Linked DNA regions of Homo sapiens: all the other regions are linked to region 1. The links are contacts of gene promoters, found by promoter capture Hi-C in blood cells and fetal thymus (Javierre and others, 2016). All regions are on one chromosome and are shown on one strand. The core of a region is centred on a gene start or on the middle of the fragment in contact, and the rest is flanking DNA. Distances in the headings are between cores, read along the strand shown.

What was found. Contacts are between HindIII fragments. The CHiCAGO score rates a contact against its expected background, and 5 or more counts as called.
Region 2: a contact is called between a fragment that was not itself captured here and the fragment with the promoter of ERCC4 in region 1, in 16 of 17 cell types (M0 macrophages, fetal thymus, M2 macrophages and 13 more). The highest score is 22.8, in M0 macrophages.
Region 3: a contact is called between a fragment that was not itself captured here and the fragment with the promoter of ERCC4 in region 1, in 8 of 17 cell types (M0 macrophages, fetal thymus, total CD4 T cells and 5 more). The highest score is 10.9, in M0 macrophages.
Region 4: a contact is called between a fragment that was not itself captured here and the fragment with the promoter of ERCC4 in region 1, in 8 of 17 cell types (M0 macrophages, naive B cells, monocytes and 5 more). The highest score is 9.0, in M0 macrophages.
Region 5: a contact is called between a fragment that was not itself captured here and the fragment with the promoter of ERCC4 in region 1, in 14 of 17 cell types (M0 macrophages, monocytes, naive B cells and 11 more). The highest score is 13.6, in M0 macrophages.
Region 6: a contact is called between the fragment with the promoter of BFAR here and the fragment with the promoter of ERCC4 in region 1, in 15 of 17 cell types (fetal thymus, non-activated CD4 T cells, monocytes and 12 more). The highest score is 30.4, in fetal thymus.
Region 7: a contact is called between a fragment that was not itself captured here and the fragment with the promoter of ERCC4 in region 1, in 10 of 17 cell types (naive B cells, monocytes, non-activated CD4 T cells and 7 more). The highest score is 9.2, in naive B cells.

What each region holds. Positions count from the first base shown.
Region 1 is chr16:13,918,431-13,921,428 of GRCh38, forward strand. ERCC4 (ERCC excision repair 4, endonuclease catalytic subunit) reads left to right here and starts at 1,724. Exons shown (of 11, transcript NM_005236.3): 1 at 1,724-1,942. The coding sequence starts at 1,736. The region is part of intron 1 of LOC105371093 (a long non-coding RNA gene); the gene reads right to left. LOC124903647 (a long non-coding RNA gene) reads right to left here and starts at 1,648. Exons shown (of 2, transcript XR_007065001.1): 1 at 1,249-1,648; 2 at 1,035-1,153. RefSeq lists enhancers at 1,308-1,357, 1,568-1,927, 1,968-2,177. The HindIII fragment of the contact is 6,939 bases long and covers 1-2,998 here.
Region 2 is chr16:14,519,714-14,522,838 of GRCh38, forward strand. The region is part of intron 21 of PARN (poly(A)-specific ribonuclease); the gene reads right to left. Among named protein-coding and RNA genes, the nearest start is that of LINC03107, 93 kb to the left of the region's middle. RefSeq lists an enhancer at 2,940-3,125. The HindIII fragment of the contact is 2,042 bases long and covers 363-2,404 here.
Region 3 is chr16:14,484,917-14,488,058 of GRCh38, forward strand. The region is part of intron 21 of PARN (poly(A)-specific ribonuclease); the gene reads right to left. It overlaps LOC105371094 (a long non-coding RNA gene), which reads left to right and starts at 2,086. Exons shown (of 2, transcript XR_933105.3): 1 at 2,086-2,322. RefSeq lists an enhancer at 752-1,687. The HindIII fragment of the contact is 2,489 bases long and covers 611-3,099 here.
Region 4 is chr16:14,502,468-14,505,658 of GRCh38, forward strand. All of the region lies in intron 21 of PARN (poly(A)-specific ribonuclease), which reads right to left. Among named protein-coding and RNA genes, the nearest start is that of LINC03107, 75 kb to the left of the region's middle. The HindIII fragment of the contact is 2,832 bases long and covers 1-2,827 here.
Region 5 is chr16:14,559,706-14,563,011 of GRCh38, forward strand. All of the region lies in intron 18 of PARN (poly(A)-specific ribonuclease), which reads right to left. Among named protein-coding and RNA genes, the nearest start is that of PARN, 69 kb to the right of the region's middle. The HindIII fragment of the contact is 2,329 bases long and covers 703-3,031 here.
Region 6 is chr16:14,631,178-14,634,433 of GRCh38, forward strand. It overlaps BFAR (bifunctional apoptosis regulator), which reads left to right and starts at 1,774. Exons shown (of 8, transcript NM_016561.3): 1 at 1,774-1,841. RefSeq lists enhancers at 1,219-1,786, 1,787-2,356. The HindIII fragment of the contact is 17,820 bases long and covers 1,470-3,256 here.
Region 7 is chr16:14,583,220-14,586,254 of GRCh38, forward strand. PARN (poly(A)-specific ribonuclease) reads right to left here. Exons shown (of 24, transcript NM_002582.4): 15 at 1,530-1,572; 16 at 1,128-1,203. Among named protein-coding and RNA genes, the nearest start is that of PARN, 46 kb to the right of the region's middle. The HindIII fragment of the contact is 1,800 bases long and covers 886-2,685 here.

The DNA.
Region 1 (2,998 bases), core at 474-2,973:
GATTAGGATATGAACATCTTTGGGAAGCCGATATTCTGCCTACCACCGCTTGGGAGTCAGGTTTGAATTTCAGCTTTGTCATTTCAATCTTCATTTCCTAAATATGTGTTGAGTACCCCCATATCACGTCCTGAAATAGATCTAAGAAATACACTAACTAGCTCCCGTGGCCTTGCCCAAGTTATATAACCTCCCTGCACCTCCATTTTTCTCACTGGCAGAACTGACGAGATTAATATCTGCCTCAGAGGAAACGCTGTATGTAAAGTGTCTGCCGGCAACCCTTTCCACTTAAACAGCATTCAGGAATTATATGCTATTTTCATCTTGACAAAATGTAAGCAAAATACCAGATTAAGCAGTAAAGAGGTAGAGGAACAGATCCTCTTGGAAACGGCTAGTGTGAATGTGAATTGGTATAGGCTTTCTAGAGGGCAATGTGGCAATGTGAATGGAATGAAAAGCCTTACAAATTTTTTTCTCTTTATCCCAGTGATTATTCATTTCTAGACGTGTATCTGAAGGCCACGGCTGAATTTACATACAAAGATGTTTAGTGAAATATTATTTATATTACTGGAAGGGAAAAAGCAGAAACAGACTAAATGTCCTCTAATAAGCAATTAGGTAAGTACACCCACATAATGGAAATCTCATCAGCCATATAAAAGGACTTTGTAAAAGAATATGAAACATCATGTTCAGAGGTTTGCCAAATGTTAATGACAAAGCTGGGGATTTAAATCAGGGATATTAATTATCTCGTGTCGGTAAAAGAACTCCGTGTGATGAGAGAATGTGTATATAGATAGAAAAAAAAGGACTAAATAAAATAGATTTCGTGATGTTAACAGTGGTTATTTCCAAGTAATGGAAACAAGTGATTTTCATTTTTGTTTACTTGTATTTTCTATTTTCTAATAACAAAGGTGGGGGGTTTCTATACAAAACAATTCCTCTACTAGTTCAACTATCAGGCATTTCTAGGTATAGAACAAACACTGCGGGAGGTGTCCCTCTAGTGGAAGGAGGGATTTTTAAAAATAGTTTATTGTATTGAAGTCTTTGGGAGGCAAACAGAGGTCTGAAGTCAGTAAATGATTCTGCTTATTCCACAGCCACTGCACTCCAGCCTGGGCAACATATCAACATCCTGTCTCGGGAAAGAAAAAAAAAATTAAAAGAAGGATGGGGAGTAATCGCAAAAGGAAGGGCCAAAAACCACCCTAGGAAACAGGTGCTACTAACTCTTGGCGCATTTGGAATATTGACCAGTAACTTTTTCAACTGTCGATGTCGGGGGATTAAGCTCCTTAGGCTTACTTCCCCTTCCCTTGCTTTTTGGCAGCTTGAGGCTAGGGTGCCAGGGGATGTGGAAACTCAAAAGAGACGTGAATGGAGCCTGATATCTGCAAGCTACACCGACAGGGGGCGCCAGCCCCTACAGGTGACTCCATGAATCTTCGGCTCCACTCGGCTCTTCTTCGGCTGAGTTCGGCCAACGCTTGCCTTCTCAGGCTCGGCTCTCTTCGGCTTTCTGAGAGCGCGCCTGTCGTGGCCTCGGCTCCTCTTCGGCTGCGTTCGGCCCACGATCATCTCAGTCTCAGCTCTCCTCGGCTACGTTCGGCTGGCTGCCGTCCTCTCGGACTCGGCTCTCTTCGGTTGAGTTCGGCCTACTCTCCACTAGGAGTCGGCTTCCTTCGGCTGCGTTCGGCTGCGACCCGGAAGAGCTTCCATGGAGTCAGGGCAGCCGGCTCGACGGATTGCCATGGCGCCGCTGCTGGAGTACGAGCGACAGCTGGTGCTGGAACTGCTCGACACTGACGGGCTAGTAGTGTGCGCCCGCGGGCTCGGCGCGGACCGGCTCCTCTACCACTTTCTCCAGCTGCACTGCCACCCAGCCTGCCTGGTGCTGGTGCTCAACACGCAGCCGGCCGAGGAGGTGCGGCCGCGCTGGCGCGGGAGTGAGGGGACTCCGAGAGTGTTGAGGGCCTCCTGAGCGGATGCGAGGCCTCTGACAGGGATGGAGGGGCTCTGAGGGGGATTCAGGCCCCTGACACTACGCGATGACACAGAGAAGGATGGCAGGGGTCCCCAGGGGGATGCAGGTCCCTCACACTGCGGGAACACAGACGTATGTAAGGGGTCGCTAGGAGGATACCGGTCGCTCACACCGTGCGGGGACACTGATAAGAATTGGAGGGGCCCCGAGAAGGCTGCAGGTCCCTGGCAGGAGTTGAAGAACACTAAGAGGAATGCCAGTCCCTGACACTGTGCGGGGACTCTGAGAGGGAAGGGAGGGGTCCCAAGAAGGATGCAAGTCTTTGACCAGAGTTCAAGAACACTAAGAGAAATGGGAGGGGTCCCCAGGGGATGCGGGTCCCTGACACTGTGCAGGCACAGTGAGAATGATGGAAGGGGTCCCGAGAAGGATGCAATTCCCTGACAACACTAAGAGGGATGGGAGGGGTCCCCAGAAGGATGCAGGTCCCTGACATGGGTGCAAGGGCACTGAAAGGTGAAGGGGCTCTGAGTGGTAGGAGAGGATCGGAGGTCGCTGCAGGGGAGGGGGAGATGTCGGAAGGAGGATCTGGATAGGAATAACGGGAGAGTCCTGAAGTTGGCCATTAAGGGAGTTTCTGGGGGCAGAAGGAAGGTCCCTGAAAGGGAACAGTGATGAGGATGGAAGATCTCTGAGGGTGATGGGGAGACATGAAAGGAGATGCTGAGGCGCTGGAAAAACCCCAATAGGGAAAAGGAGGGACCAGGAAATAGGACATTCACCAAGGCTGTGTTAAGAGGGCCATAGGGTCAGAAAGGGATTGGAGCTTGACGCTGAGGATGTTGGCAAAGGTTAACTACAGTTAAGGACAATGGAGAACACTGAGAAAGATGGAATGGGGCTACACATGGGTCTGAGGGGTGTTGAGAGGGGACACAGCTTGGTCGGACAAGTCTGATGATCCCCTAGATATATCAGGTGGCCGGGAGAAAAATG
Region 2 (3,125 bases), core at 134-2,633, 600 kb after region 1:
ATACTAAAACAAACTAACTGGCCACTACTGTCCATTTTTAGGCAAGAATCAAACATAAATTCTGCTTTTCCTATACCAATTGCCAACCACATAGCAGACAAGTAAAAGTTTCTCTTTATAGATATATTCCAACTAATAAAAGAAAAAGGCATGCTAGAATTACAGTATCACCATATTGCAGTCTCTAATGAAATAATGGATCTAGGTTAAGCATTAACACAGCCAATAAATCACACACAAAAAGAGAGATACTAGATACTAGATGTGCTTCCTGATGGAAGAACACATCACCACCTGTGAAGCAGTCTTGCAGCCTCAAAACATCAGTTCTTATTCTGATCAAGCTTCTAGCTTTAACAACAAGCTTATATGAAAAAGGAGGACAAAAGAATATATAAAACAACATGAGAGGTGGGGAGTGGATACAATCAGTAAAGTTCAGACTGTAAGAAATGCTACAGGACGAATAACCTTGCTTCTTCAACAAACGAGGGGGTGAGGGCAGAAGAGAGACACACTGATAGATTAAGAGACACCACAGACATTTCAACAACCACCATGTGTGGCCCTTATATGAATCTTGACTTCAGTGGAAAAAGATAAACTCATGACATTTGTGAGATAACTTGAAATTTTAACAGTCTATCAATAGTTTATCATTTTAAGATATTAATGATTTATTTTTTAGGAGCAATACTAATATTGTACCTATGTTTAAAAAAATAATCTGTGGGCCAGGCATGGTGGCTCATGCCTGTAATCTCAGCACTTTGGGAGGCCAAGGTGGACTGTTTGAGCTTAGGAGTAACATATCGAAACCCCGTCTCTACCAAAAATTAGCCAGGTACAGGGACATGCACCTGTAGTCCCAACTACTAGGGAGGCTGAGGCAGGAGAACAGCTTGAGCCTGGGAGGTGGAGGTTGCAGCGAGTGGAGATCGCACCACTGCACTCCAGACTGGGTGATGGGAGTGAAACCCTGTCTCAAAAAAAAAAAAATCTGTTTTTAAGAGACACACTGGAATATTTCCCAGTGAATACAATATGGATCTAAAATATGCTTCAAAATAAAAAGTGAGAGAGCAGGTGTTCGTAGAGATGAAACAGGACTGGCCACGATTAAGTGGCTGAAGGGGTTGGGGGTGAGTACAGACTTGTCACTATATTCTTCTTTATAGTGTGTGTGTCTTGGACATTTTTTTCCACAATAAAAAGTTCAACCAAACAAACAACATGAGTGCAACAGGTTCTCCCTCAGAGCATGGAGGAGACTGGCCACTGCCACAATCATGGTGTTGGCCTCTCTGGTTACACAATGCTTTATCCTTTAATTCTCTAGTCTAGTTTCTCCAAATAGCTTCAGTAAGGTAAAAGATTTTTATCAGAACATCATTTTCACTTTCACTGCTTTTCAGCTCTATCAAGGGCTTCTGTAATGTACACTTTGGCAAACCTAAACATTCCCTTTTCTTTTTCATAAGAAAAACAAAGCAAAATAGAGTACTTGACAGACAACAGAGAATTTCCCCTTCTTTTCCCTTTAGAATAATGAAGATGAGGCTCCAAACTCAACCTCTTGCAGCCGTTCTCTGAAAGTAAACCAGGGTTGCCAAAAAGTTCTATGGCCTGCAGGTCCCTGCGTCACCCCATCCTCCAGCCCGGCAAATCTCTGACATGTGGTAAAGCCTGTGCAAAGTCACATGTCAGGAAATAAACACACAGAGCCACTCCACTGAACATCAGTTCACAGCCACAGGAACGCTTTTGCTTTCCATTTGGAATATTTGTTAAATATATGTAACGGGCCGGGCACGGTGGCTCACGCCTGTAATCCCAGCACTTTGGGAGGCTGCGGCGGGCGGATCACCTGAGGTTGGGAGTTTGAGACCAGCCTGACCAACATGAAGAAATCCCATCTCTACTAAAAATACAGAATTAGCAGGGTGTAGTGGTACATGCCTGTAATCCCAGCTACACGGGAGGGAGGCTGAGGCAGGAGAATTGCTTGAACCCGAGAAGTGGTGGTTGTGGTAAACCAAGATTGCGCCATTGCACTCCAGCCTGGGCAACAAGAGCCAAACTCCATCTCAAAAAAAAAAAAATACACGTAACCACCACCTATTGACGTTTCAGTCAACAGTGGACCCCCTTATACATGGTGGTCCCATAAGATTATGATACTGTATCTTTTCTATGTTTAGATATACAAATACCATTGTATTACAACTGCCTACTGTATTCAGTACAGTAACATGCTGTACAGGTGTGCAGCCTAGAAGCAACAGGCTACTCCTTGTAGTCTAGGACTGCAGTAGGCTGTACCATATAGGTTTAAGTACACAACGATGTTCACACAACGAAAATGCCTAACAACACATTTCTCAGAAGGTGGCCCCTGTTACTAAGCTTATGACTGTATTACTAAGGAGCTAAGTCAAAGGTAAAAATAGTCCAGCAGGTAAAAACAAGAAAAGCTCAAACACCAATACTACAGAGAGATCTTTAGCCACAAACATCATTTGCACATCAAGAACCAAACAGAATTGGGGTGCAGGTGAGGAGGTGGGCTGAGCTAAGGTAGAGCCTCTTCCCACTAGGAATGTAAAGGAGTATTAAAGGATAATTAGAACTTTTTTTCCTAAATGCACAAATCTCAGGTGTCAGAAATAAGAGAGAAAAGAGCTGGGCATGGTGGTATACACCTGAAATCTAGCTACCTGGGAGGTTGACGCAGGAGAATGGCTTGAGTCCTGGAGTTTAAGGTCAGCATGGGCAGCACAGTGAGACTTGGTCTCTTAATAAGAGGGAAGCAGGAAGGGGAGAAATAAGAGAAAATGTAAAGCCAGGGCTTAAGAGAAAGAGTGGGCTGGGGCAGCCCTGGTGGAAAAAAGGGGAAAACAAGACCAGGTACAGGGGACAATATCCAGAAGTCACAAAGACCCAGACATGGCCTCAGACCTGTGTGGCACAGGAAGCTGGAACAAGGTCCCTGCATCAAGATGGGCACACAGAAAGGCTGCCCCCTCCAAGTGAAGAAGGCAAGAACAACAACCAGCCCAGAGAAATGGCAACCAAAGCTCCCTGTCCATGGCCTGGGGTGGGGAGAGAAAGGTCTGTAAAGAGAA
Region 3 (3,142 bases), core at 605-3,104, 570 kb after region 1:
AACCCTCAAAGTATTAGGGAGGCAGGGCACAGTGGCTCACACTTGTAATCCCAGCACTTTGGGAGGCCAAGGCGGGAGGATAACTTGAGCCTATGTAGTTGAAGACCAACCTGGGCAACACTGTGAGACCCCCGTCTCTAAAAAGAAAGTGCTAGAGAATGTTCATATTATACAATGTCTCCCAAAGAAGTGGAGTGGGTTACTGAAATGTGAGCTGAAAACAGCACACTCTGCCTCACTCAGGAGATAAGCGGTGAAAGCAGGCAGTTCTGGAGATGTGCTATTGAGTAAAGTTACTCATATCAGAGAGCCACAGAAATAGGATCCTTTCCTGAAAATCTTATTCCTTGGAACAGTTATTTTTCTTACTTTGAATGTGTCATATTTCTGTTATTTTTCACTCATTTACCCAGCCTCCCAACAATTCATATCCAATAACCATTGTCCACCCATTCTTCCATGTGGTAACTGCTTACTGAGTGTTTTTGTCCCAGGAACTATGTCAGGTATTTGGTAAATCAAGACACAATCTCCACCCTCTCTTAAAGGTCACCCTGTCACATACCAGATTTATGTAGTGGTGATTTCGCTGTAAGCTTGTCACTCCCTAAGCTTGTGACAGATTAAAATATGTTCATCTATCAATGTGGACATATGAGAACCCATTGGTTCTACCATCATTATTCTGTACCAATTGTTAACCAATGAGCATTCTCCTGGATTTTCTTCTATTTCAATTCTTTTTTTTTTTTAAGAAAGTTCTTTATTTTTATTAATATATTTATTTATTTGAGACAGTCTTGCTCTGCCGCCTACGCTGGAGTATAGTGGCGCCATCTAGGCTCATTGCAACCTCCGCCTCCCGGGTTCAAGTGATTCTCGTGCCTCAGCCTCCTGAATAGCTTAAACTATAGGCGTGCGCCACGACGCCTGGCTAATTTTTGTAATTTTCACAGAGACAGGGTTTCACCGTGTTGGCCAGGCTGGTCTCGAACTCCTGAGCTCAAGTGATTCGCCTGCCTCGGCCTCTCAAAGTGCTGGGATTATGGGCGTGAGCCACCGTGCCTGGCCTGGCTATTGCGTTCTTTAATCTAAAAGGTTTATTTTGATTTGCAAGCACACCCAAAAGGGATGACATCTGCAATAATCCCTCTGTTGCCAGGTGTGGTCGCTCATGCCTACAGTCCCAGCACTCTGGGAGGCCAAGGCAGGAGGACTGCTTGAGCCCAGGGGTTCGAGACCAGCCTGGACAATGGGGCAAAACCCCATTCTCCACACACACACAAAAAAAACCACAAAAATTAGCCAGATGTGGTGGCTTCAGACTATAGTCTCAGTTATTAGGGAGGCTGAGGTGAGAGGATTGACTGAGCCCAGGAAGTCAAGTCTGCAGTGAGCCACGATTGCACCATTGTACTCACTCCAGCTTGGGCAACACAGCAAGACCCTATCTCGAAAAAAATCCTTCTCTCAAGTTTAATTTGGATTACCAAGTAGGAGAGGAGGCTTGGGTCAATATTCCCCATGAAAGCAAAGGTGATGACAGGGTCACAGGCGAGCTGAGTTAATCTATTTAATGATATCTGATAGTTTTCAATAATTCAGCTCCCAGCTGATAGACAAATGTTACAAACAACTCCCTAACCATGGCGAGGGGATTTATCTGAGCACATTTGGAATTTAGGATCACTTAAAAGGGGAAATAAATAACAGTCCGCTTTTCACTGCTGGCCTCCACGTGGCAATAATTTACCAGCATTCCTTGAGTCCCAGCAGCTTTGCAGCTCTCGGCCTTTAATCTAGAAGCCAAGCTCTGGCTCAAAGCCACGCCTCTAATGGATGAATCAGCAAAATGAATTGGCTGTCAACTGTGTCCTCCAGCTATTCCAGCTCGCCTGTCAGAAGCAGCATGTAGCAGGCTGCTGGGTAAAACTAACCTTTTCCAAATTTGTCAGGGAAATGATTCAAGGCAATCTATCGGTCTTGCCACTTTGTGAAAGCCACTGGGGAACCAAATGTGCTAAGAGTCCTCCCTGTTTCCCTGGAGGTGAGTGGGAGCAGTTCCCTCACATAAGAGTCTCAAACACTCCGGCTTCACTGTGCCCAAGAACAGCACGGTCCGGGGTGGTCCAGTCTGATCCCAACCGGCCCACCCGGGGCATCCGGTGGAAGTCTTCGCCGGAGGATCCGAAGGCAGCATCAACGCGGTTGTCTCTTGACACTGCACACAGCATAGCATTTAATCTTCGGATGTTCTAGTCACCACACAAATAAAGAGACTGAGCATCGGAGAAACTAAACAGCTTGCCTGAGGTCTTGTAGGTAAGCAACAAAGCTGGCTTGAAACCAGGATGTGGCATTTATATATACATTTTAACAATGTTAATACTGCCACATGCCTGCTGTGTATTTATATGCATTTTGTTTATGTAGGTTGACAATTAGCTTATAAAATGCTTCCTGTATTAAGGAATTACTTAAAATGTTTAGACTTTATTGTTTTTTAAAGAACTTTCCACTACTGTCAAGCAAAGACTTTCCAACTAAGTTGATGCATTATGTTTATGAAGAGGAAGACAACATAAGATGTAGATTCCTTCCTAAATTGACTTATAGATTTACTGCAACTCCAGCAAAAATATTCCAACATTTTATTTTATTTTTTAAACAACTTCTGTGGAACAGGGCTAACTCATAGGCAGTGTGCCCAGAGTTGGCCTCCAACATTTTAATTAAATATTGAAAAAAATTAAAAGTAAGAAAAAAAAATCTCGGTAGAAAACAACAGTGGTTGTGAGAGCCTGGGGCTGGTGCTGGGGCTGGAACGGGAGAGGAAGTTGACTACAAAGAAGGGGAGGGCATTTTGAAGGTGACAGAACTATTTTATATCCTGATTGCAGTGCTGATTACATTACTGCATGCATTTGCTGAGGCACAGAACTGTACACCAAAGACGGTCACTTTATTATACATCAATTAAACCTCAGTTATTCTGGGAAACCTGAAAGATGAATTCTAAAATTAGAATAAAAGGGCCAACAATAGCTGGGACATTTCTAAAAAAGAATGGGAAGGGGGACTTGCTTTACTAGGTAAAAAAGCTTATTGTAAAGCTATAGGAATTGAGACAGTGGAGTAATGG
Region 4 (3,191 bases), core at 162-2,661, 580 kb after region 1:
GCTACAAGAAGAGTGTGAAAGTTGATATTCACAAGGAAGGGGCAGAATCTACATCTCCCATTTCATCTCCAACTCACTGGGATAAGGATAAATACTTTTGCTGAGTGAAGTGACAAGCAAAACCAGTCTCACACCCTAAAAAATAATTAGCCACATCAAGTACATTTGAATTCACACAAGTTTCAAAATGTTATGATGTAACTCTACTTGGTACCTAGCAAATATACGATCTAAGCCTCTGTGCCTGTCCTCTGGTCACATGTACCCAAGCTAGTTCTCTGAAGACAAGGAAGGTGTTTTAGCTATTCTATACCTCCAGTGATATTTCTTCAGGAGAGAACAGCTAATACAGCTACTTCTCTCTGCTTCCGAACAGCCCTGGGCTTGCAATTACTACAAGCCACTGAAGAACCACGGCTTAACTTCTTAGGGCATGGATTTTACCAGAGATCAGGGAGGAAAAATTAAATAATTAATCTGGCAATTTAAAACAAATTAATATTAAAGTAAAATGGACATATTGCAGAATAGCATTTTTTTAAATTGTGAGAATGGTTTAAATAAAACATAAGACGGTAGAGATATTTCACCTTCTGCCCCCCTCACCCCGCTGCGCCCCTGAGTGCTCCTATCCACGCTGCTTTGGTGTTGTTTGAGAAGAACCTCCCCCCACAGAGGCACTGATACTAGCTGAATGGATTCTCCTTTCTGGGGAATGAGAACACCAGAAAGGAAAAGAGACTTCCACCTTCTCTTCTTGGCAGCAAGGAGGTGAATGTAATGTCCACATGAGGGTAGTTTATACATGTCAATTTGTATTCTAGGTGCACAAACAACACTCAGAGAGCTGTAAGGAGTTCTCTGTGGTTAGAAGCAATTCTGAAAAGAGCTGACTCATATGAGAAAAGCGTAATGCAGTATCTATTTCTTTTAGCAAAGGTGATAGAAACGCACGTATCATGAATATGTCATGCAAGGAAAGATGAGGGCAGCCTAAGCTGAGAAGGTGTTCAAATAAATTTCCTGTTTGAAAGGGATTATGATACTGCTCTTTTCCCTACCTACCTGTGGACACAACAGAAAGGTGGGAATCCTGTCCTATAAATTCAGGTTCTGGCCCTCATTTGCCCTACAAGTATTTCTTAGCCAAGGTGAAGTGGTCACCCGTGCATCTACCAAAATGGTCTGGACCACTGACTGGGCAGGTTTTGAGAAGCACGGTCACCTGCCTCAGGGTGGTAGCTATCATTTCCTGAGATTATATCACAGGTAGTACACGCTGCCAATGCTGTAGGCTCTGTTACCCTCACTTTATACAGAAAACTGAAGACCCTGTTGAATGGCTTGTCCATAGTCTTGCAGCTGGTATAAGGAGAACTGGAATACAAATTCAAGATGTTTCAATCATACAATGCTGCAAGGAGCTGATGTCAAGGAAGATACAAAGTAATGACCACCTACTCTGCTAGCAGATGGTGGTAAATTGTTCTTAGAAGCAGTGAACCAAGGGCATGATATCAACAGTCCTTGTGTGTGCCTTCTTCAGCAGAGAGGTCTACTGACTGTCAGTGAGTGTTCTGTCTAAACGAGAAGGGGCTTAGAGAGGATCATATCCTTTGACCTAGTAATTCCTCTTTTAGGAAATCATCCTATGAAAACAATCTGAAATGAGGACTAATTTTTAATGCACAAGGATACGTAAATTTTTAAATTAAAAATGTCTTCAAAACACAAACAAATGTTTAATAGTAGGAGAATAGTTAAATAATTATGCTATTCATATTCATTAAAAATTATGTGAGGTTGAGGGAGGCCGGCACGGTGGCTCACACCTGTAATCCCAGCACTTTTGGCGACCGAGGTGGGTGAATCACGAGGTCAGGAGTTGGAGATCAGCCTGGCCAACATGGTGAAACCCTGTCTCTAATAAAAATACAAAAAATTATCCGGGCATGGTGGCATGAGCCTGTAATCCCAGCTACTCGGGAGGCTGAGGCAGGAAAATAGCTTGAACCCAGGAGGCGGAGGTTGCAGTGAGCAGAGATTGCGCCATTGCACTCCAGCCTGGGTGACAGAGCAAGACTCCGTCTCAAAAAATAAATAAATAAAATAAATAAAAATTACGTGAGGGAGAAAGTAGGGAGAGGGGAGAAAAAATACGCTTTCAAAGCAATAATAACCAAACAAAATATAATCAATAAATTCTCTGGCTAGCTATTTGGGAAAAAGTAACATGAATGCCTCTCTCATAGGTTATACCATTGACTCAATCAACAAATATTTGCTGATCACCTATTTTAAGCATTGAGAAAAACTTAGAATAAAAAAATCTTTGCCCTCCTAAGACAATTCGTTAAGCAGTACAGTTTCATATGGGTATTTTCCTATATGTATGTTAAGCCTCCATTTAAAAGTTAAAATAAAAAGCCTGACTTCATGGATCTTACATTCTAGTGGTGAGATATAGACACTAAACAAAAAAGTAAAATATACAGTGTACGTGCAGTGCTATGGAGAAAACAAAAAGCAGGCAGTACTGAGATGTGGGTTGTGATTTTAAATTAAGTGGTCAGGGAAAGTCTTACTGATAAAGTTACCACATAACAATGCAAGATGCCAAATTTCAGATAAATTACATATCACTGTTTAGTATATCATACAATATTTGGCACACAGCTATTTTAAGTGAAATCTGGCAATCTTACTTACTGAAAGGCAAGTGAACAAACCTCATTCCTAATAAATTAAATGTTAATGCTTCTGAATAGGACACTAAAGCCAGAAACTATAAAAGAATAAACTGACAGATATACTATGGAAAATGTAAAGCTTTGGTTCGGCAACATAGGCTAGATTAAGAATAGCTGGGCACAGTGGCGCACGCCTGTAGTCCCAGCTCCTCCAGAGGCTGAGGTGGGAGGACCTCGAGCCCAGGAGTTAAAGGCTGAAGCTGGAGGGTGCTATAATCACACCTGTGAATACTGGGTAACAAAGCAAGATCTCGTCTCTTAAAACACACACACACACACACACACATACACACACAAAACTGTACAACAAATTGGGACAAGTATTTGCAAAATACAAAACTCAGGATTAATCTAAGCATCATTTTCTCCTATAAAATGAGGGGAGGGGGAAGATACCTGTGGTTCATACAATTATAAGGATTTCAGAACCATGTCTTGTAC
Region 5 (3,306 bases), core at 617-3,116, 640 kb after region 1:
GTTTGTTTACTCCACATTACCTTACACAGAAACCCCTTTCAAATGAATTATTAATAGCACTTCTCACTCTTTCCCTATACCTTCACCTTCACATCTGGGGTTTAGAGGGAACTGAATAGCTCCAAAACCCGGAAGAACACGAAAACCAACTCTGTGTGACTTGGCAGACTGCGGCTCTGGAGAGCGCCACGCAATTGTGAAACTGACTCTAAAACTGTGGCTGAGTGTCTGCGGAACTGAACCAAAGTAAACTCTCCCAACGGCCTCCCACCGTCCTTATGCCATGCTGTTTGGAAGCCACTGCTCTGGTAACATCTCTGCCCTTCTGAAGTAAAATTAAAACATTTCAATATAGGCATGCCTCATCCCAGCTGGCTGTCAAATGGCCTGCACTGACTCCCTGGAATGATTTGATAAAATACTTCACATATGCCTCATCCAACTTGACAGTTTTCATCCTAGCATATGAGGAAATGCACTAGGCAAGCAGAAATGCTGATAAAGACATGAAAGGATGTTCCATCACTGTGAACTGTATTGAAGAACAATCTCTCCCAGAAGGACTTTCATCTGCAGATATCAAAAAGACACTCAGACTAACACTTGCACGAAACGTTCTTTCTATTTTAGCAAAGATCCGAGAGGGTGTAACACGGTAAAGACCCTCAAGACTGCGTGCGGGTATCTTGCCACATTTCTGAAAGCTTTCTGATGAAATATTATTTCCCCACTTATTCTCTAAAGGACTGACATTAACTTTATCAAACACTAAAATTAAAATTCCCATTAAATACAATGGCTAATTTTACAAAAGAATTCTATCCTAAGAAACAGTGTAACTCAAGTTCACATTCTAGATGTCATAGAGCAAGTTTTAACCTTTGTGGAATCTGTCATTTTTTAAATGTTGTATGAGTATATCACTGGCAGTGCTTGTTATCCTGGCTTTCAAACAAGTCTGGAAAGACTCCAGGGTAAAGCACAGCATACCAGGATCTTTTGCTCAATACACTGGGTCACTTCCACTCAGTCTCTTCACAGGCTACACAGCATACGCTACACAATACCTTTAGCTCCAAAGAGCCACCACCTCATCTCCATTACCCATGTGCTGGGTGGCACTCACAAAAAGCCACCCTCCAAACTTTTTTGTGAAACAGGCGGTATAGGCCGGGCGCGGTGGCTCACGCCTATAATCCCAGCAATCTGGGAGGCCGAGGCAGGTAGATCACCTGAGGTCAAGAGTTCCAGACCAGCCTAGCCAATGTGGTGAAACCTCGTCTCTATTTAAAAATACAAAAATTAGCTGGGTATGGTGGCGGGTGCCTGTAATCCCAGCTACTTAGGAGGCTGAGGCAGGAGAATCGCTTGAACCCAGGAGGCGAAGGCTGCAGTGAGCCGAGATTGCACTGCTGCACTCCAGCCTAAGTGATAAGAGCAAAACTCCGTCTCAAAAAAAAAAAAAAAAAAGAAAAGGGCGGGATGACACTGTGTCCCAGGCTGCCTAAGAAGGCTCATTAGTTACTGAAGAATTTCATTTCAGATATATAACTCTAGAATATAGAACCTTGAACCGTTAGCAAAATGTGCTTCCCCGCCAACTGGATCAGCATCACCTGGGAACTTGTTAGAGATGCAAATTCCCAAGCGCCATCCAAGACTCCTGACTCAGAAACTCTGGACTGAGAATCACCGAGTTAACAGGAAAACAGTATATTCAATGTGGTGTTGTTAATTACCACTAAAGATGATGCAGCAATCAGCTGGATAATGACTTGTGCCAACTTCTCCAAAAGATATTAGTCTTAATGATTTGTTTATATTAAATCATTCTGTGGCTCATCCCTGTTAATCCCACTGCTTCGGGAGGCAGAAGTGGGAGAATTACTTGAGGCCTGGAGTTTGAGATCAGTCTGAGCAACATGGTGAGACTCCTGTCTTTACAAAAAGTAAATTAGCCGGGCAAGGTGGCTCGTGCCTGTAGTCCCAGCTACTCAGGAGGCTAAGGCAGCAGGATTGTTTGACTCCATGAATTTGAGGCTGCAATGAGCTATAACATGCCACTGCACTCCAGTCTGGGCAACAGAGAAAGACCCTGTCTACACAATAAATAAACAATTAAATGAACAAACCATAAATAAAATACGTAGAAAAACACAAAACTGGCCAGCCACAGTGGCTTACGCCTGTAATCCCAGCACTCTGGGAGGCTGAGGCAGGTGGATCACTGGAGGTCAAGAGTTCCAGACTGGCCTTGCCAATATGGCAAAACCCCATCTCTACTAAAAATACAAAAATTAGCCAGGGGTGGTGGCGCACGCCTGTAATCCCAGCTACTCGGGAGGCTGAGGCAGGAGAATCGCTTAAACCTGGGAGGCAGAGGTTGCACCATTACACTCCAGCCTGGGGAACAGAGTGAGACTCCATCGCAAAAAAAGAAAAGAAAAGTACAAAACTTTGACACATAAAATTTTAAAAAAGAAAAAAACTGCCAAGCATAGTGGCTCATGCCCGTAATCCCAGCACCTGGGGAGGCCAAGGCAGGCAGATCAGAGTTTGAAACCAGCCTGGGCAACATGACTGCTACAAAGAAATACAGAAAATTAGCCAGGTGTGGTGGCACATGCCTGTAGTCCGAGCTACTTGGGAGGCTAAGGCAGGAGGAGCCCCTGAGCCTGAGAGGTGGAGGTTGCAGTGAGCCTGGGGGTCAGAGCGGGACTCTGTCTCGAAAAAAAAAAAAAAAAAAACTATGAATAAAAAAAAGAAAAACATAAAACTATTAAATACCAAGGACTACCTCAAAATCCAGAAGGCAGTAACATAAGCCTTCTACCACTCCTTGAAACCAGGAGGCCAAACTGTAGCATGCAACTAGGTTCTCTGCAAGAGATAAATTGGGTGAAATTACTGCTGACAGCTACCACTCTTGTTTTTAAGTAGATTTAAAAAAAAAAAAAAAATTACTCAAACTACTCTCTTGGCAACTCATTAGCAAAAGTCTAACCTGTTTCTGTGAATTGGCCACAAATTAAGCTTTAGCCACTAATGCAGCACTAAAGATTAGCAAACACTTGAGGGAGTAACACACACAATACAAAAGAATCAGACACCTCTAACATTAGCAAAATCCTCCACCCTTACCACAAAGCTTCAGACACAGATTATGTTAAGTACAAGCACAGATCAAAGGTTATTCTATGATGACACAATGGCTTGCCTTGGACTGTGGCTTATCTAAGCCATTCCCTAGTAGTCCGGTGAATATTAAGTGGGTTGCAAAACAATGCTGCTATTAACCCATTTCAC
Region 6 (3,256 bases), core at 524-3,023, 710 kb after region 1:
TGGGTGACAGAACGAGACTTGTTTTCAAAAAAAAAATTAAATTAAATTAAAAGAATAATAGGGGTTGTTACTTAGGTGATCACGGAAAGCAAAGCTGAGACCCTTAGCTACTGCATTAGCCTCTGGGAATACTATGTCGAGTGCAACATATGAGGCCCGGCCCTAATGGAATTGTATGTTGGTTTGGGGTTGCTGTTCTCCAATGCCTAGCACTGGGCTGACACGTAGTAGACACTCAATAAGCATGGGTTGAATGAATACATTCAGGTTGGTCTTTCACAAAAGCCAACTATGAAAAGTTGGTTAGTGCCGGATGCGATGGCTCACGCCTGTGATCCTGGCACTTTGGGAGGCCGAGGCAGGCGGATTGCTTGAGGCCAGGAGCTCGAGACCAGCCTGGGCAACACGGTGAAACCCCATCTCTACTAAAATACAAAGAATTAGCCTGGCGTGGTGGCGCACCCCTGTAGTCCCAGCTACTCGGGAGGCTGAGGCAGGAGAACTGCTTGAACCCGGGAGGCGGAGGTTGCAGTGAGCCAAGATTGTGCCACTGCACTCCAACCTGGGCGACAGAGCGAGACTCCGTCTCCAAAACAAACAAACGAACAAAAGGAAAGTTGATTAGAAGACCTATTTTCAAAATCTATCTCAGCCACTTATTAGTTCTGGAATGCATTAAACCTTCCTAAACCTCAATTTCCTGGGATTGTATTGAGGCTCAGTGGTGCTAATGAATGTGAACTGGGAAGCAGCGTATTAATAAATCTGTATAAATAACTGTTTAATGGGGGCCTGGCGCCATGACTCACACCTGTAATCCCAGCGTTTTCGGGGGCTGAGGCAGGAGAATCGCCTGAACCCAGGAGTTCCAGACCAGCCTGGGGAAAAGAGCGAGACCCTGTCTCCATAAAAATAAAATGAAATTTTAAAATGAGCCAGGCGTGGTTGTGCACGCCCGTAGTCCCAACTATTCACGAGGCTGAGGTGGGATAATCGCTTGAACCCGGGAGGCGGAGGTTGCAGTGAGCCAAGATCGTGCCACTGTACGCCAGCCTGGCGGGTGAGAGTGAGACTCTGTCTCAAAAACAAACAACAACAACAAAACAAAACCAAATAATCAGCATAAGTTCTAGACGCTGTGACCTAGACGCTGGGAAGGGGCGAAACGTGGTGATAAGAAAACCATTTCAAGCTGTACGAGGTGGCTCACGCCTGTAATCGCAGCACTTTGTAAGGCTGAGGCAGGAGGATCCCTTGACGCCATATGTTCAAGATCAGCCTGGAAAACGCAGCGAGACCCCATCTCTACGAAAAAAAAAATATTTTAATAGAAATAAAAGTCATTTAATTCCGATTCTTAACACCGTAAATTGAACGTATAGTCCTGTGATTTTCTACATAAAATGTGAAGGCAAAAAATAACTGTAGAGAGTACGGTGCGGCCTTGTAATATTTTAATTTCTAGGCAAAGCTTGTATCCTCCGGATACAAGAACAGCCGCCCAGGAGGAGCGGAAACTGACACACACCCGTCACCCCTTGGGCTGTGACTGCCGAGCCCGGGTACTCGGTCTCTGGGTGAAGAGGAAGGGGCGGGACCGGCGGTATTACGCATGCGCCCACTTCCTCCGGCTGGGAGTGGCCGCTCTAGGCAGCGGGGAGGTCGCGGGGTTGAGGGGGGTTGTGAAAGGAGAGCGGCCTCTCCTCTATGGTCACGGGGCCGGGGCACGCTTCCCCCACTCTGTCTTGTTACTTCCGGTAGCGAAGCCTCTCCCTCTTCCTCTGCTCCCGCGGGGTCTGTGCTGAGAATAATGGCCCGGTTGGCCCGGGACGAGTGGAATGGTAAGCCGCGACACGGCTGGGGGGTGCTGAGGGGGCGACTCGGGCTTGATATCGGGGAGTGATGTGGAAGACGGAGCGGGAATCCCTTCTGCGGAGCCTCCCCAGCCGGGTCGTAGGAGGCGCGCGGGGCCTCTCCTCACGCAGGCCCGAGTCCTGAGCATCCCCACTCCTGGCCGCGGGGTTCGGACCCCAGCTTGGCCAACTGCGCTATCCCTTCCCGAGAGCCCCACGTCCGCACAGCCGGTCGCTGGGCCTCGCCTGCGTCCTTTCGGGGGTCAGGGTCAGAGCCACTCCCTCCTGGGGCTCCCTAGGGCGGGAAGGAGGAGGGGTCGCTTCCAAACACCTTGGAGGGGAACCACGGGGCGCCTGCCCGCCAGGAGCGCTTGCCACACCCTGCAACAGCCGGACCAGAATTGATGAGGCTTCTGATAGTCGCCACGCTGAGTTTACGGTCTAATTGTCGAGGCACGTTCCTGGCCTAAGGCGGAGCGATTGTGCCCATTCTTTAAAGTAGGGTGACCGAAGCGCAGAAGGGAGAAAGTGAAATCCCAAAGTCACACTGGGGCCAGGCAAGAACTCGGCTCTTCTGATTCTGCGACTTGCGGCTCGGAAATAACTTAGGCAAAAGAGAATTTTCTTTTTTTTCTTTTTAGAGACGGAGTCTTGCCCTGCCGCCCAGGCTGGAGTGCGGTGGAGCAATCTCGGCTCACTGCAACCTCCGCCTCCCAGGTTCAAGCGATTCTCTTGCCTCAGCCTTCTGAGTAGCTGGGATTACGGGCCCGCGTAACCACGCCCGGCTGATTTTTGTATTTTTAGTAGAGACGGGGTTTCACCATGTTGGTCAGACTGTTCTCGAACTCCTGGCCTCAAGTGACCCACTCGCCTCGGCCTCCCAAAGTGGGGAGATTACAGGCGTGAGCCACCGCGCCCGGCCGAGAATTGTCTTTTATTAAAAAAGCCGGCGGGAGGGGGCGACAGATGAGAGTCAGGTTGTGTCTAAACGGGGACCTTTGGAGGGGCAGGAGGCAGCATCCCAGCTTCCGCGGAAAACAGAGTGAGAGCCTAGACGCTGTTAAGCCCTCAACTGTCGCCATTGGGTCCTCCCCGCCGAAGCCCATTGGTCGGTCCTTTGCAAGGGGGGTGGTCTTGATGTCATGCTCCAAATCGCCAATAGGAAAGAGCTTTACTCTCTTCCCAGGACACACCCCCGAGCCGGCAGGGACTGCACGTGCTGATGGGGTTGTTTTGTTTGTTCTTGTCGCTGCTGTTTTCTCAACATCCAGCCTGGGTGTATCCTGACAGGTGTGCTCTGCATTTCCCTATATCCATAAACTTGATGGAGACATTGTATTTCTCCAGGGCAGTTCTTTTTGTTTGCTTTTTGGTTCCAGCGTTTGGCAGTGCCACTAAGTAGG
Region 7 (3,035 bases), core at 536-3,035, 660 kb after region 1:
ACTATTTTATATGGAAATAATAACATAAAACTATAACTCATAAATAATTATATCCTAGAACCATTCTGGAAATGAATGTCAGGAAGGTTACTATAACACAGAATCAAAAGCATAAATGGAAATTAACAATGAAAAGGCTGTAACTGTTTTTATGTCAATACAATGCTCTTTAAGCAAGAATTCTTTAACTCCATATTAAATATTAGACTTGATGCCTTTAAAAAAAAGCCTTTTAACATGGTAGCCACCTAAGTAATATCTTCCACTCCATCATCAACTGAGACACATTCTTTCCAAAATCAATTATTTCCATTATATTGTTATAGAAAAGGTCCACGTTTTCTCCCCCAATGGCCCCACCACCACTTTTCTTAATTCCTTTCTTGGACTATTACCCAGAAAGGGGCAAATAACTGTAATCTTGGCTGCTTTAATACTTTGCATTATCAATTTCTAAACCATTAGTCCTATTATCCATGTCTTTAGAAGTTTTCAGGCTACAACTAATGGCTCGCTAATCACCGTATCAGCAGCACAATCAGGTTAACAGGGACCAAGGAAGTAGCACCTGGTAGGCTCTCCACATACCTTGGTGGTGGCCCGAGGTGGCAAAACACCTCCATCTCATCTCCCTACTTCTGGTTTTCCTCAGTGCTGCTGTTTCTACTCTCTAAACCAGCTGAAAAGGAGGCAGGGTGGGGACTTGCCTTAATCTCACCTGTAAATCCAGTTCTCGGGCTTTTCTGAGATGGAAAATATATTTTTTACTCTACCCCTGGTGATTAATCACTAGCTCTTTGTCTCTGCTTCAATAATGTATGAAAGAATAAAAGGGCACATCAAGTTTTAGGAGAATTCCATATTATTAGAAAATAGAAGCCTTGAAGCTTTAATTGCTAAAATTCTCAATGAATGGCTACCCAACTCCATTAACATAAAATATATGTAGAATTAAAAGACCATCTTTATTCAAAAAACAATAATTCAACACACGGTACGTGCAAGTGAATTCAGCCAAAATCTATAAATGAACAATACGGTCTCCAGAGCCATTCTGCTTTTCTTCTACAATATACATCAATAATTATTACAAAGAGTTTGGAGGGTTTCCGGTTTAATATTCTTACCAACTTTAGGAGGGTTGAAAGGTGTCTCTTTTAACCGCTTTTCCAATTCCGCAAGGGATGTGTTGTTAATGATATCCTGCAAACCACGAAGCAAAGAATTATGAGATTTCATCATCTCAGAACAATATATTAAAGAGATTCACTGACCCCCCCAAAAAAAAGACAGCATCTAGTACTGTCTCCTTGTGTTCTTTAAAGAAACACAGAAGTCTTCGTTTTTTTCAATGTGAAAGAGAAGCAGCTAGTTTAATTTTTATAATATACAAAGTATAACCAAATGAATAAAGATCTTTACAGATGCATTAAATACCTCCAAACCTTTTGCCAGAAGGCTATATTGTTCTGGCATTCATTTCACTCAGTAATATGCAGTCGCTTTATAAAGTAGCAAATGAATAATACCTTAAAAGGTTGTGTGCTGGCCATCAATTTAGTATCCAAGAGTCTAAAAAGAATTTTTAACAAGGTAAACAAAATGTATATCAATGTTTAAAATGTCTTTTACTCAAATATGTAAGCTACTTAAAATACTTCATACATAAAAAACATAATTAAAACATAAAATGTTTAATACAGAAAATACTTAAACACAGACAAAGTAATTAAACACATTGGCCATTTTGAACCCAGCACCAGCATCCCTGCTACGTTGGAGTAGGTACTCAGTCCCATCATCAGCGACTTCATTGAGCAACTGCAGGAGAGTCCACACTTGGAGTACAAGTTCTAGATTCACCTGGATCCTCAGAGAGCCTGGGCTCCATCAATCTCAAGGGTGAGTCAAATACTCTCACATGGTTTTACGTGGTTCAAATACTGCTGCCGGTCTACCATTCCCAAACTGCTACCATCTACTCCTACTCCTCAGGTTTGTAAACTATAAATTCTTCTGCAGGGCCAAAATCTACAATCAGTACTTTCACGCTGTTGTTTTTATTTCTTATTATTCTATTTCAGAGATCAGAAACACCAAAAGGGGAGGGTGGGGAGAAACCCACATGAAAACTCTATTTCTCTGTTTTTTTTTTTTTTTTTTTTCATATAAATGTGAACAGAGTGGGTAACAGGACAGAAATAAGCCCAGCTGAAAGAGAAACTGCTCGAACACCACGCCTATCCCTCTTCAACAGGTCCTAAGACACAAACACTTGTTCGGTAGGCTCCACATGGCTGACCTATGATGTCTCAGAGATATGTGACATATGACCTATCAGAACAAGGGGGCAATAATAACTATGGAAAACACCAACAGGAAAAGGCACTGACTTGAAGTGGATGAAAAACAAAATCTCTAGCCAGATGGACAGTTCTTGACTGACTCTTGAACACTCTCAATTGGACACTTCAATAGTTACAAGGTACATCCTACATGCAAGACAGACAAGAGCCATCTCAAGGAGGCTTCAACAGTTCTTCAGACAGCAAGATGAGAGATAAGAAAAAAGGAGTCGTTGGTCTACTTTCACTCTCAGTTCAAACTGTGATTTTTTGATAACAAAACCAATCATAAATTATAAAAGCAAGCCATCACAACATTGGAGACATTAAATAAGTTCCAAGCTTATATGAACATGATCTAATGGTTTTAACAAATTACTATATACCTATTTGTATTGTGTATGTCACAATGACTCTTTTTTTTTTTTTTTTTTTTGAGACAGGATCTCACTCTGTCACCCAGGCTGGATAGTAGCACTATTATGGCTCACTGCAACCTGGACCTCCTGGGTTCAAGCAATTCGCCCACTTCAGCCTCCTGAGTAGCTGGACCACACGTATCCCACCACACCCAGCTAATTTTTTATTTTTTATAGATATGTGGTTTCACTATGTTGCCCAGGCTGGTTCTGAACTCCCTAGGCTCAAGTGATCCTCCCACCTCAGTCTCCCAAAGTGGTGGGATTATAG